Linked DNA regions of Homo sapiens: region 2 is linked to region 1. The links are contacts of gene promoters, found by promoter capture Hi-C in blood cells and fetal thymus (Javierre and others, 2016). All regions are on one chromosome and are shown on one strand. The core of a region is centred on a gene start or on the middle of the fragment in contact, and the rest is flanking DNA. Distances in the headings are between cores, read along the strand shown.

What was found. The method cuts DNA at HindIII sites, captures the fragments that hold promoters and counts their contacts. A CHiCAGO score of 5 or more calls a contact.
Region 2: a contact is called between the fragment with the promoter of REDIC1 here and the fragment with the promoter of FLJ13224 in region 1, in 3 of 17 cell types (naive CD4 T cells, naive CD8 T cells and non-activated CD4 T cells). The highest score is 6.1, in naive CD4 T cells.

The regions. Positions count from the first base shown.
Region 1 is chr12:31,318,708-31,325,888 of GRCh38, reverse strand. It overlaps FLJ13224 (a long non-coding RNA gene), which reads right to left and starts at 1,573. Exons shown (of 1, transcript NR_026806.1): 1 at 1-1,573. The region is part of intron 1 of SINHCAF (SIN3-HDAC complex associated factor); the gene reads left to right. RefSeq lists an enhancer at 1-650. The HindIII fragment of the contact is 3,270 bases long and covers 1-2,455 here.
Region 2 is chr12:39,623,760-39,630,940 of GRCh38, reverse strand. REDIC1 (regulator of DNA class I crossover intermediates 1) reads right to left here and starts at 4,758. Exons shown (of 13, transcript NM_001031748.4): 1 at 4,582-4,758. The coding sequence starts at 4,604. The HindIII fragment of the contact is 5,259 bases long and covers 2,996-7,181 here.

The sequences.
Region 1 (7,181 bases), core at 324-2,823:
GGTGGCATTGTTGGGAGCGCTGTTTTCGTGATCTTCAGACCCCAGGTTCTTTGGTACGCTCGTGTTTAGTGTGTATTTATTAATTGGGGAGGGTATTTGAGGCAAACCGAAAGTCTCGGGGCGGGGAAGTGAGTGGAGCCTGGGCATAATTGAGGAGTCGCCGGAGTTGAGGGATCCACGTTGAAGGTGACAATGACTTTTCTCCGCCGCAGTGTTCTCTCGCGGAAAGGAGCCCGGCGGCCGAAAGGCCCGAGAGGAAAGCGACTCGTTGGCCACCGCGCAGCGGCCGGGGTCGGTGCGTCCGCGTGGGCGCGAGGCGCGGGCAGGGTCGGGCGCCGTTGTGAAACCTCGTGGTTTAGTTGACTGCAGCCCTCGGACTAGGGTGGACAATAAACGCCATTCGCTCGGAAACTAAGTTGCCATCCGCTTCCGAGCTGGCGGCCGAGGGTCTTTAAATCGGCCTTTGGGGGTCAGTGCTGGGCTCTGCCGGAGCGCACGCGGCGTGGCGTTGTTTGCTCAACTCCGGAGGGATGCGGATGCGACAATGAGAGCAACACGCGGTCGCTTAAAAACAGCCCGTCTTCCACTCGCCTGCCCTCTTCGGACCGCGCCCAAGAGCCTCTGGTGTCCGGGGTGCTTTCGGAGCCCGAAGTTTTGCTCCCGGTGCGTTCACCTGTAGCGTAGGTGTGGGCGACACCGCGAGGGCTTCCCGTTTATGGGCGGCCGTCCGCGCTGTAAGATGGCCAGGGAAGCCAACTTGGCTGGAGATGGAGGCGGCGGCGTTGTGTACGCCGCGGGAGTCAGTGAACTCCGCAGGGCACTGCTTTTTGTGCTCTACGTGACAGACCACGTGCTTCGGGCTGCGACCCTGGTCCTTGTCCGAATGTCCAGCCCCGCGTGAGCCGTGGGATGCGGCCGCCGTCGGGCAGGTCCGGCCGGCAGGACAATGTGGTTTGCTGATGATGGCGTCTTGCCAGTTTAAAAAGCAGAGTGAAAGTCGCCAACTCTCCGCCCGTGCGGGGCGGATACTCCGGGCGTTTCTCATCAAGGACACTGCAAAACTTTGATTAAATGGGCCTGCTCCCGAGGGGAGGGTCGGGGGGCCAGGCTCCGGACTCTTCGGGGCGCGGGGTCCGGACCCCTACCCAGGGTGATCGTCCAGTGTCCGGCCCCTGCGAAACGCTCCGACATCCCTGATGCTGCACGTAGGCAGCGCCCGGCTGGACAGAAAACAAAGGGCTGCATGTGCCCGTGCGGGCCCCCGGCGCTCGGGGCCGCCGCCTGGGCGTAGGGCCGTGCAGGTCGGAGGCCCTCGAAGTTCGGGCGAGTTTCGGGAGGGGCTTTTGTCCCTCAGCCCCCTCGTGGGGAAACTTTGGCGGCGCTACTTGTGCGAGGTGCCATGCTGGTGCGTAGGGAGGCGGCGTGCTTCCCCGCTCCGGGCGTGCGGGCGGGCGACCGAGGGAGGCGGCAGTGCCCGGCGCTTCAGCCCTGGCGTCGGGGGTTGCGACGGCCGAGGGTTCCGGGGAGCTTGGCCCGGACTGCTCGGCCGGTTTCTCGTGGCCCGGGAGCCTGTGTCTGGGAGGTCTGTGGGTTCGCCTTTGAAGTCGAACTGTTGCCATGTTTGAATTACGTCAGGGCAAAGCCATGAGGAGGAACAAGCCCCGGCAGCGCGGCGTGCGGGAGGCGCGGCCTGCGGGAGGCGCCGGGCCGGGCTGGCGCGGGGCCCGTTGTTCCGGCGCAGGTGAGGGAGGTGGCGGCGAGCGACGCGGTTCACCTCCCGCTGCCCTCGCCCTCGCCCCGGCGAGCGGCCCCCGCAGGAACTTTCCTCCCGACGCGAGATGTCTTATTTACCAACAAATCCACCAGGGAGCATTCTTACTTGCTGGCTCGGCGTCTCTCTCGGCAGTCACCGGAGTGCCCGAGGGGGAAGCACGATTTACGGAAGGTGGGGACCCGAGGGCCCTGGGAGGAGCGGGGAGGCATTTTACTGCTTTCAGAGAAACGGGTGAGGGCGGCGAGCACCTCCTCCCCAGCCGAGCTGTGGCCCGCAAGTCCAGGGGACCCAGCCCCGACGACGCCCGATAAACCACCGTGGGGAAGTTCCGGGGCTCCCTGTTGCCCTACTAAGGGAAGTGAGGACTGTGGGCGAATTGTGCGTGCGGCCAGTTTCTTTGTGTGTTTCTAGGGGGTGGGGGGAGCGGGGAAGGGCAAGGTTTGTTTTGGTGTAGGGGGAGTTGGTTTCTTGAGGTGGTAGGGCGGTGCAGTTTGTTCTGGTAACTATGACCCTAGTCAGTTTCTTTGTTTTTATTTTCTTCCTGTAACCTTCCATTACTTCAGGCACTCGGAAGATTAGGATTTACTCTTGAGTTAAACAGGGACCCTATCCGAGACAGTTTTACCCCAGCAATTCTTTCTCCCCCTTCTTAAGTTGTCCTAAGGAGGGTTAAGAAAAGCTTTTCTTTTTCTTTTAATAATTTAAAAATGAATTTGACCTTGTTATTCAGAGTACGCTGAAAGCACCTGTTTTTGAACTGGAATTTGCCAGACTTGAAAAGCCTTTTAAAATTTTATGTCGCAAAATTGAACACATTTAGTTGCCCAATCTAAAAGTCTGGGAGTTTGTTTCTGGTGGAGTTTCGGAGAAAACCCTCATGGCATTTAAAGTATTTATATAATGATTTTGGGAAGGGGGATCTTTTTTAGGCGAAAGGTATGCGTGACTCAGTGTTTGGTGGTTATTCAGTGCCTTAGGATGACCTTGAAGAAGCAAATGTTTAGGGAGTTGGGCCTTTTGGAAACATTGTAAGGAGGCTGGGGAGCTGGCTGGGGAGGAAGCTGCTCAGGAAGATGACACAGGGTAACGGCTAGCTTCTTCCCAGATCCCGTGAACTGTGGTTGACCTTCTGGTTACCTCTCCTAGATTTTTCTTTTCAAGCTAACCTTTTCTTTTTTTGTATGTGGCCCCAGGCATAGCTCAAAAATTATGCTGGTTTGACACATGGATGCTTCTTTGGTATTTGGGGTTTGCCTGTAGTCTAGACATCCGATACCCACCACCATATCTGTTGCTTCTTTCCTGATTTCTCCTGCATTTGAATCATGTGTAAGGCCTAGAATCTAAGTGATCATTACTAGGAAATAATACCCTTGAATGCCCCTGCCCCCACACACCTAAAAATCGATACTAGTTGAAATCCATTTTTTTTCATTATTTTGTTATTAATAAACCTATTTTTCCCAAGTTTTGGTTGACCAAATTACAATACCAAAAGGCAACCTATATTAGTACATTTCTGTAGTAAATAGAAAGAGCATGTCAGGAAAATGAAAAACTTTGGACCTATTTTTCCCAAGTTTTGGTTGACCAAATTACAATACCAAAAGGCAACCTATATTAGTACATTTCTGTATTAAATAGAAAGAGCATGTCAAGAAAATGAAAAACTTTGGATTTAATAACTTTGGCTTTCCTTTCGCAGCTATTTCTCTGGGTCCTGTATTTAAAATGCATATGAGGTGCTTTGCAAATACGCTGAGATTGTTTGAGTTGTTTTTCTTAATTAGTATTTCATAGCTAAGTTATGGCTAGAATTTCCATTTCCTAGCAGATTTCATATACTACATACAGAGCTTAATGGTTTTTGTTTTACTAATTAGATGATGTAAAACAGAGATTTGGATTATCAATGTGAATGAATTCAGGGTGGGAAAGACCCACAGACAAGGTCTCTACTGCCTTCTCTTTGTATTGCTTTTGTGGGAGGTTGGAGATACGAAGTTCAATTGGTAGAATATTCTAGATCACTGGTGGACAGCAGGCCCCAAGTCTGTCTGTCCTTGCACAGTATTCTTAATTCTGTATATCTGGAACCTGAATGGTCAATTTTTTTTTTTTTCCCCCAGAGTGGTTATCAAGTCCTGGGAAATCCTGACTCATAGGGCTCAAACTCAGACATATTTATGTCAGAGAAGCAATTTAAGAACCATTTTACATGTAAAATAAAAGTTTTTCACTGGGGAAAGCATAAACTTTTAAATCTAAACCAACTATACAGGGCTCTTATGAGGATAAATTAATCAATTTACCATGCCAGGCACATAGTAGGTTGCTTTAAAAGTATGTCATTTTCGTTTTTTCTTAAGAGATGGTAGGAATATAATTGGTTGAGCAGAAAAGGAACACATGTATTGAGGCACGAAGTTTTGCTGTTCAGAGGTTTCTGGGTTAGTAATGCTTGGGTTTCAAAGCTGTCATCATCTTATAGTCACTTTGTGATCCAGTTTTTTTCATCTGTAAAATGGTAGTAATACCTATTTTAAATAAGTTGTAATTAAGCCAGTGACATGATTGATAAATATTAGCTGTGTTGTCCTCACAACACTGGGAAGTAGACATTTTACAGAAGATAAAACTGAGGCCTGTGTCAGTTATCGTTTCTGGGGAAACATTAAGTAAATTTTTAGTGGAAAGAATGAGTGTCTTTGGTCCCCTCCCTTACCTTAAGAAAGCAGTTCTGGGAAGACACTGCCCTTGACTCTTGGTTGTCTTTTCAATTCTGATTCAACCATTTTACATCAGAAAGTCCTGCGGAAACCTGGAAAATGTCATTTTTCTTTCTTCCTGATTTCTCTTGTCCACAAGATTGTCTTGTATTTCCCACACTTAAGTTTTGATTTTGGGGTGTTATAAATTGAGACTTTTTTGTTGTCTTTTGTTTCTCCAGTTTTTTATTGAATCTGCAACTAGGATTTTTCTGTATTATGGAAATAATCTGGAAATGTCATCTAGTCCAAAAAGGGAGTTTGTTTTCAAGGTAGGGAGGTTTTCTCTTTGCCTCAGAAATACTAATGTCACAGGTACACCGCTGTTACATATTCAAGTATGAAAGTTACAGTTGAACTAAAAGAATTTATTTCTAGCTTTGTATTTAGTTGTTTTCCACCTATTATAAGTTTGGTTTGGCTTACTGTTATTTTAATTTGGTAAATGTTAACTGTGCTGAGTTGAAGTAGCTCTCATTTCTCATTTCTCCCCACACTAGTCTAATTTCCTTCCCCCTGCTCCTGCTTGAAATAAGCAAGAAACATTTTTTCCTATAGCTTTTAAAACCTCAGGTTTTTTTTCCTGCAAAAGTCTATAGACCAAATGTTAAAAAAAGACTCCTTTTTAAAAACATTAAAAATATTTCTATGATCAATAGTGCAAACAATGACTCCTTTCAAAACATTAGTTTTTAAAATTCACGTCTTTATTGTAGACACCATTTCCCATTCCATGCCCTTAAATATACTGTTTATATTAATCTTGGCTGCCCCACTCTTTGAGTAGTTAGCAAATTCTACCCGTTTCTGTGTACTATGTACAGCCAGCACCTGGTTGTAATACAAGACTTAGTTTCTGCTCTACAGCGGTTTACTATTGAGTAGAGGAGATAATGCAGTAAACAAGAAGTGAAATCTTATGTGGTAGGTGTTCTAATAAAGGTATGGAAGGGTTTTGTAAAATAAGTAATTCTTAAGAGAATTTCCCAGGTCAAGGGGATAGAGGGTAAGCCGTCTCAGGCAGAAATAACAGCCTGAGTAGAGGGTGGCTAGTTATTAAAGTTTGTTTGACACTCCTAGAATATCAGAATTCCAAGTTGGGAGCAGCTGGTAGGCAGGAGCAGATCCTGAAAAGCTTTGAATTCCTTGCCAAGGAGTTTAGATACTATCATGAAGCCAGTGTTGGTACCTTGGAAGGGAAGATTAGTAGTTGAACTTTAGGAAGATATCACATGTTTAAAGGATGTAGGGAAGTCAGTTACAAGGTTCTGACAGGAGTTCATGCACCATGATGAGGAACAAACAGGCAGTGGGGATGGAAGTGAAGGAAGAAACAGAATTTCTAAGGACTTCACAATAAATTTGATGGAGGGCCATGCAGAGGGTGAAGGAAGAGCTCAGTTGGCTTCCAAGTTGTTTTTGTGTGACTGTGGATGACAACCAAGATAGGTAAATAGAGGAAGAGCAGATTTGGAGGGAAGATTATATAATCAATTCTCAGGGTATTTAAAGATTGGAATGGATTGGTGGTCAGTTGGCCATATTTATCCTAGAGCTAAGGGGAGAGATTGGACCAGGGAATGAATAATAGGTATTACCAATAAGGTTGGTTAGTAACTTCCTGCGAGTGGATTGCCCAAAGACAGAAAGCAAAATGATACCTGAAATGTAAGAGGAAAAAAAGAGAGAAAGAAGAAAGATTGGTGAGTAAAAAGAATTGTCAGAGCTGAGTGCATACCTTGTGCCGATCTTTGTGTTGATGTTGTGTTGATGCTTTACAGATACTATTCAGGAGATTTGGATTTGTCATTATTATTTTGAGACTGAGCTTTGCTCTTGTTGCCTAAACTGGAGTTCAGTGGTGCGATCTTGGCTCACTGCAACCTCTGCCTCTGGGTTCAGGCAATTCTCCTGCCTCAGCCTCCTGAGTAGCTGGGATTACAGGCGCACGCCACCAGGCTGGGCTAATTTTTTGTATTTTTAGTAGAAACGGTGTTTCACCATGTTAGCCAGACTGGTCTCGAACTCCTGACCAGGTGATCCACCTGCCTCTGCCTCCCATAGTGCTGGGATTACAGGCGTGAGCCACTGTGCCCGGCCTGTCATTATTTTATAGATGAGGAAACAGGATTAGTGAGGTTAAGGAACTTTCCTGAGGTTTGGGTCAAATCAGGTGTGTATACTATCATGTATCCATTTTCTTAACATTTTTCTCAAGTTTGAAAATGGGAGAACAGCTTCATAGAGGAGTATATGGGGCTTTTCATGACCTTAAAGTCTCCCTGAAAAGGCTAAGTTCCTCTTTTCCCACAGACCTGGGCTTAAAAGAAAATCTTTAGTAATCAGAATTTTACCTTCAGTTAAATTTGTTGTATATATCTTGGGATAGATAGCATTTATTTTTCTGTAATGTGCAACTCTTATAAATTCAAGGAAATAAACAGAATTTCCCAATGTTACAGAAGGGCAAATAAAATTAGGAGTGACTTCCTATTTAGTTGTAAAGACAGAAGCAGAAATATACTCCAAATTGACTCATTGCAGACCCAAGTATGGTTATATTTTCTAACTCATAATCATCCATTAAAAGCAAATAAATATTCTTTCTGACACTTTCAGTTTTTTTTTTCATGTACTGG
Region 2 (7,181 bases), core at 3,509-6,008, 8.3 Mb before region 1:
AAACTGGGCATGCTACTAGGACCACAGGCATAAACCTTGACCGTTTCAGGCAAACTAGGATGATGTTCACTGTACGTTTAAGTATTACCCACATTTAACAGACGAAGAATAAATTTTCAACTTCTTTGTCTAGCTTACAAACTCACCATCAAGCAGACATATGCAGACATTATCTCCAACTATTTAGGTAATGCTTTTCTGTTTTGTTTTTCTCCATCGAACCTTCTTTTGTCCTTGCCTCTGAGTAGCCAAACTCTCAGCTAAACCTATCCTATGTTCTACTATGGTTCACATTATTTATTTTTTATATCCTATTTTGGCCTCTGACATTAAATATTTTCTAACTTAATGGCAAGTCATACTTTTCTTCCCCAATACACTACAACCTTATAGAAAAAGACTAAATTTCAGTTACTTTGTACTTACACCTGGCACAGTGCTTGGTACATAGCACTCAATAATATCTTGCTTAGATGAACTAGGTCTAGGCCTACATTTACAAATGGTAACCTCTCCCTCACCTAAATTCCAACAGAACTTTGCCTAGGCCTTTCTTATGACATTGATTGATTCCCCAATCTGAATTATAAAAATAAACCTCCCTAATTTAAAAAAATCTTATACTGCATGTATAGTGGTATATTTATAGATCTATAGCCGATCTGATTCTGAATAGCATTTTGCAGACCAAAGTCTGGTTATATGTTCCTCCTTTCTTACTACCACCTTCATATCTGAGGTAAGTATGAATTTGGTGAAACTAGTCATTAATAAACAAGAAAATAAAAGAATCTTTTCAAAATTAAAAACAAATCAATGCTTACATATGTTGTCTCTCAAATCTGCACTTCAACCTGATTAGAAAAATACAGGGTCTCCGTGGTGCCTTCCAGCAAATATGAAACCAATGTGAGAGGTGTAGGTCACTAAGTCCCAGATAAGTAAAAAAAAATTTTTAACTGGTGGGACTGACAATAGATTGATATTTTAATTTTGTCAAAAAAGGATTAAAAATAGAAGGGGGCATTTTAGTATCAAAAAATTTAACAAGGATATAACTTCAGAAAAAAAGAAAAAAGTCCATTAAATTGAAAAACCTGCTATTATCATTGATTAGCAAGTCTCAAAGAGACAGTAGTTTGGGAACTACTATCATATACATGTAAATTAATTTCTTAGATCAATCTCTTTGCCCTCAGTGAGACCCTGGTTTGAAATGCACTGTTATGATATCTTGCAAAGATGGCCAAAACCAAAACAGTAAAGCCAAACTAAGTAAGCAACTAAAAAAGGAAAATAAGGGAAGCTTATTTCTAATCACTGGCTCTTTCCTTTACAAAAAGACATTTTATATATGACTGGTAAAGTCCCTAAATTGAAGAGCAGCAAAGGGTCAAATGCCCAGTTTGGTTTATATAAGAAAAGCTGTAAAGATCTTTGCAACTATAAAACTGTAAAGATATTGCTATCAAATGATTCTGCAATTAAACTCACTATATCAGGTTTCTATAATATACAAGAACAATCTACTTCAAATTAGTGTATGCAATCTGGTTGCTATTACTAAAACATAAATTTGCTTCATTCATTCACTTGAGAAAAAGTATATAGAGAGCCCTTTATTAACTGTTTAAGTGTCTTAATGCAGACTCACCTAGTATCGCAAACTAACATTTTTCAAGTTCCTTAATACCTTCCCTTCCAACTCATCTTTCTCTTTCCTAAGAAGCCTTGCTGAAACCTAGATCTCCAATTTGATCAATTATTTATTTCACCTCCATTTTAACTTTTAAGAACCAGTGTTCGATTGTTTCCCTTTGGTGCTTGCTCTGTGCACTATTTCTGTCCTTCAAGGCTTAGTGTAACTTCCTGTTTCTCATTTCTCTGAATTTCCACAGCCCTTTTTTGTGGTACTTTTATTTACTTTATTTGTGGCACTCATCTTTCTATACAGCATAGGATGGAGGGCAAGCACACTCAACTCAAATCCTAACTCTGCCATTTACTAGCTGGGTGCCTCTAGTCAAGTCACTTAACATTAATGAACTATGCTTCAGTTTCCCCATCAGTAAAATGGGAATAATATTTGTATATAAATCATAGCATTTTCAAGAGCAAATGAATAAGCACTTAGAACAGTGCTTGTGACAATATTAAGTCCTATTTAAATATCTATTATTATAGTGATTTGCCTAATTTTAATCTCTACTTTCTCTCCTAGGTTCTTTTTGTGGACTAGATGTATTTTTCTTTTCTGAATCCCCCTGTACAGCTTACCAATTCCCTAAACAGGTAGTCAGGTAAAAAATATATTTGCTGAATTACTTTCTGTTGAAGGCTCTGGAATTGTTCTGAAGGAATTGTTCTCCAATCACTTCACTTGTCTATATTTTAAGTTCCTAACAGTTCTTCTTAAAATGTTCAGCCAAAAACATCCCTAACAATGGAGGGGGGTAAAAAGAACTCCAGCATGGTTTGGGATAAAGATTAAAATTTCTATTCTATTAGCTCCATCAGCTGCCACTAGTTACTAAAAGCACTAGTTCAGACTGAGGCCCTTTAGGACACTATGAGTGCCAAGATCAACTAATCTTGTGTACCCTTGCCTGTTCTGAAAATAGAAAATGGAGACACCCATTTTTTTTTATTACCAATCTGGGGCTTTACCCTAAGAAGCCTATCCCGCCACATAAAATTTATTTAAAATTGCAGTGTATCTGAACATTTCACAAGAGTTTTTCATTTCACTCTACAATGCAACCATGTTTGTGTGAAAGTTGATCACACAAATTGAGTCATTCTTGTGATGTCCAACCACATCAGAGTTGAGATGTCAGGAGGCAAAAGCACACAGGGCACATAGCATTGCTCCAAAAACATGATTCTCTGCAAGCCAAGCTTCTGAAACTGCCTAGGACCAGTTATACCAAATAACTACTAAAATGACCTTCCAGGAGGTCATTTTAACTACCACCATCACCCACCAGTCAAAGCTTGCCAGCTTCTCACAACTTCACTACTGTCAATGAACTTTCTTTCAAAACCATATGTAACATTTCTCTTTTTTTGTAAAATCCCCACCCTTTTCTTTGTTCTTCAGACATACCAAAGACATACTTTGTGTATGCCCTGAATTGCAATTCTGCCATTTCCAAATAAAACGTTAAATTTAGAGATTTGTCTCTACATTTTATTTTGACTTCGACGTTTGTATAAATTTAAACACATATTTTCTCCTAATCTCTGATTAAAACTGATCCTTCGGGGAGATGTAACCATGTTTCTTAAACCCCCTGGTACCTAATATCTCCAGATGCTGCACCTCCAGGTGCTGCAGTACACCTCATTTTCAGAAACACAATCCTAGGTTACATGTTTCCTGCAGTATATTGTTTTTGCATCCTCCCAGTAGCAACTAAAATATTACTCCCAAAATAGCCATAAAAGTTTGTGATATATGACAGAATAATAGCAACATCTACATTTTAATAGTGCTAAGCATTTGTAAAATTATTTCATATAATCCTATTTAATATTTTAAAGAATACTAAATTCAAAAAGATCACATTATAAGCATGTATCAACTAAATCCTGTTGAAGCCTGTAAGTAAATTTTCACTTTTCTCCAGAGTACGTCTGCTGCCAGAACACTAGCCAGAAGTAATTCAGGTAAATTTCTAAAATACAATGCTAGCATATTCAACAGGATAAAAGTGCATGCTAAAATTATCAGGCATAGCTACAATACTTAGTGAATACAAAAGCTGTCTTTCCTCCGATAAATTCTTTAGAATTCAAACGCATTATAATCTAACATATAATTACTGTCCTGGGTCTACTTGTGACAAAAAAATTACATGTAATGGCTTCTTGTTTCAATCAAAACAATTCTTCTCATCAAGAATTTTGATCAAATGAAATTACAGGCCCACATGATTTCCACCCAGCTGGACTTTAAGGTCAATAACAATGAATAGGTTATATAACACTAAATTTTCAATCTATCACGCTTTATGTGATCAATCCTAAATACAAAATAAATGGCAAATTCGCTCAAGTTATTCAAGTAAAAACGGTTCACTTTACTTCCCCTTAAAATACAAACTACAATTTGGATTTATGGTGATACTGGTGCCCTGCCATTGATTTAAGTGCAGCTGGGACTGGGCTGTTTCACAATTTCCAAATTCATGCAAAGACTATATATCAACTCAGAAGAACCTAAAAGAGGTGTAGACACGGAAAGAAGGCAGTAGGGGAGGGCTCAGGTGCTAAAAGGCCTCATTACAGTAACAGAGCATAGGACATGGAGAAGGGGAGGAGGGGCAGCAGGGAAGGTTACTCACAGTGGCCCCCACAGGTGAAGCCTTTGTAAAGGCAGTGAGTGGGGAGAAGCTGAGTTACTTTTGTCTGAGGAGTAGAGATATGGTTCTAGAGTCTCCAACCCGATTTGGATAACAATAAAAAGACCCTTTCCTACCAAGTTCTTTCCAGCTAAGGCTGTGACCTCTCCGCCAGGAACTAGAAAGAGGAGTCGTAGGAATGAATGTCCCAGCCTCAAACTCCAGCTGCACAACTTACCGGGACCCCCCGACCCAATTCATCTTCCCAAATCTTTTGACACTGAGGTCCCTGTGTCTAGAGCTCAGACATCTCAGCTCTGCGCCAAATCGCAGCTTCAGCAGGATCCCCCAGGGCCTCCTGACAACGTCAGGGCCCGAGTAAGCTCCTTCTGGTCCACCGCCTGAGGCCCAACCTCCCAACAGCCTCTGCGGCTTCTGCGTGTTCCTTCCGGTCCTGATAGGGCCGCAAGGGGACGCTGCGGCAAAGCAGCCGACCTGGCTGACATCGTTTTAATCGCTGAGGCAAGGCAGGCCTAAATAAATGAAAGCCTAAATTTTTGACAGGGGCCACAGGATTAGTGTTTCAAAACACCTCCATCATAATTTTATCTAGTTCTGACAGGTCTTTGACGTCTTTTTCGAGTCAGAGACCAGACTTGAGAAAGAAAAAGAAGGCAAGGACACAGTTAAGGATCGCTAACCCTAAAAATGATGTTTCCCTTCCCATTTATTACCCCATACCCAAATTCCTTAAATATCCTTCATGTGCAGTTTTAATACTCCGTAAACAGGTGTTTATAAGAAACATAGCGCTGTAGTAAGTTACCATTCTGTGCATTGAGTTGCTAAGAGAGCTTAAATCAGGCCGGGCGCAGTGGCTCACGCCTATAATCCCAGCACTTTGGGAGGCCAAGGTGGGCAGATCACGAGGTCAGCAGATCAAGACCATCCTGGCTAACACGGTGAAACTCCGTTTCTACTAAAAATACAAAAAATTAGTGGGACGTGGTGGGACGCGCCTGTAGCCCCAGTTATTCAGGAGGCTGAGGCAGGAGAATTGCTTCAACCCAGGAGGGCAGAGGTTGCAGTGAGTCGAGAGACTCCAGCCTGGGCGACAGAGCAGACTCTGTCTCTTAAAAAAAAAAAAAAAAAGAAAGAAAGGAAAAAAAAGAGCTTGATCAAAACTTAATTAGATGTAAAAGTCCAAAGATGTTAAAATCCTTACTGAAAAAAAAATCTCAAAACAAAAATTGAATTATGCTATTTGTTTCTGTATTAAGTTTGTATATCCTTACAAAACAATTATCTTACAAACTGTCCTATATTATTTTGGTTAGAAACTAGGCATCTCTTCTTCCAAATACATGCACAAATTACATTTTTTTAAATTGCCATGTTTTTTTCCAGAACATAACCTGGGGAAGATTTCACAATTTGATATATAATAATCGATTTTTTGTTAAGTCATTGGAAAATAGTACTTAGAATAGGATTATGTCCCAGGGTAGATATCTTGTTTAATCACAAAAATCCTGTTTTTTATGACAAAATTCACCAAGGTGTATCTAAAATTGAATTAGACCAAGTGAATTCAGCATTTCCGAGAATATCAGACTTTGACATGGAGTTGTTTTTTCAGTAACAAAACCATACAGGCAAGGAAGAAGCAATGGCCCTGTGTATCAGCCTTTCCTACTTTCAACATTTTAAAACATATTGACTAAATTAACTGAAAGGGGAAATAATTTGCTAAGGGATTAACTCTTTTTTTCTTTATTGTGAGTAAAGGGACATAAGGAGAGGTTGACCAAGTTGTTGGGTAAAGAACTAAGAGCTGGCACTCCATTTGTGGGAGCCAAAAATTAAAACAATTGAACTAACGGAGATAGAGACTAGAGTGATGGTTACCAGAGGCTGGCAGTGGGGGATGGGGAAGTGGGAATGGTTAATGGGTAGAAAAATATATTTAGATAGAATGAATAACATCTAGTTTTGATAGCACAACAGGATGATTACAGTTAACATTTATTATACATTTTAAACTAACCAAAAGAGAATAATTGGAATGTTTATAACACAAAGAAATAATAAATGCCTGAAGTGATGGATACTTCATTTACCTTGAAAGATTATTATACATCTTATGCCTGTATCAAAATATTTCATGTACCCCATAAACATATTCACCTACTATATACCCATTAAAATTAAAAAGAAAAATACATAAAAATTTTAATAAGAACTGAGAGCTGGATGGGCCATCTCTTCCCCCTTACTAGAGTCACTTCTTTCCTTCCAGTCACAGGGAGGCAGTGAATTAGGCTAAGGAAAGATTAACCTATGAGATACATGTTCAGACAAGATATTTACTGGGTTTTCCTTCACAGAAAAAGACATTTCCTTATGAACTAGGTATTAGGTAGTTATGTGTAATAGCTGAAATGTTGACCTAAAATCTCATTTTCAGTGCTGTTTATGCCTCCATGAGTAAGACTAGCATGACTGATAGATAATAAGAGAGTCCAATGCTGTGCTATTTTAGGGCCAGTAGAGCAATTAGGTAATCTCTTGGGTCAGGAAACAGTTCAAGAAAGCAATACAGCACAGATGAAATACTATTAAGCATTTGTTGAAAAGGAAATCCATTCGAAATTCTCAAACCTTAAACAATTTATCTTTACCTATTTCTAAAAATTATTTACTTTCTGGATATTCATAATCTGAACATGCAACACATATACAATATACATTATACATACATTTATGTATATACATATATATAATTCTCTTTATTACAAAAAAATTTCTGATGTTTTACAGTTCATAAAACATATATAG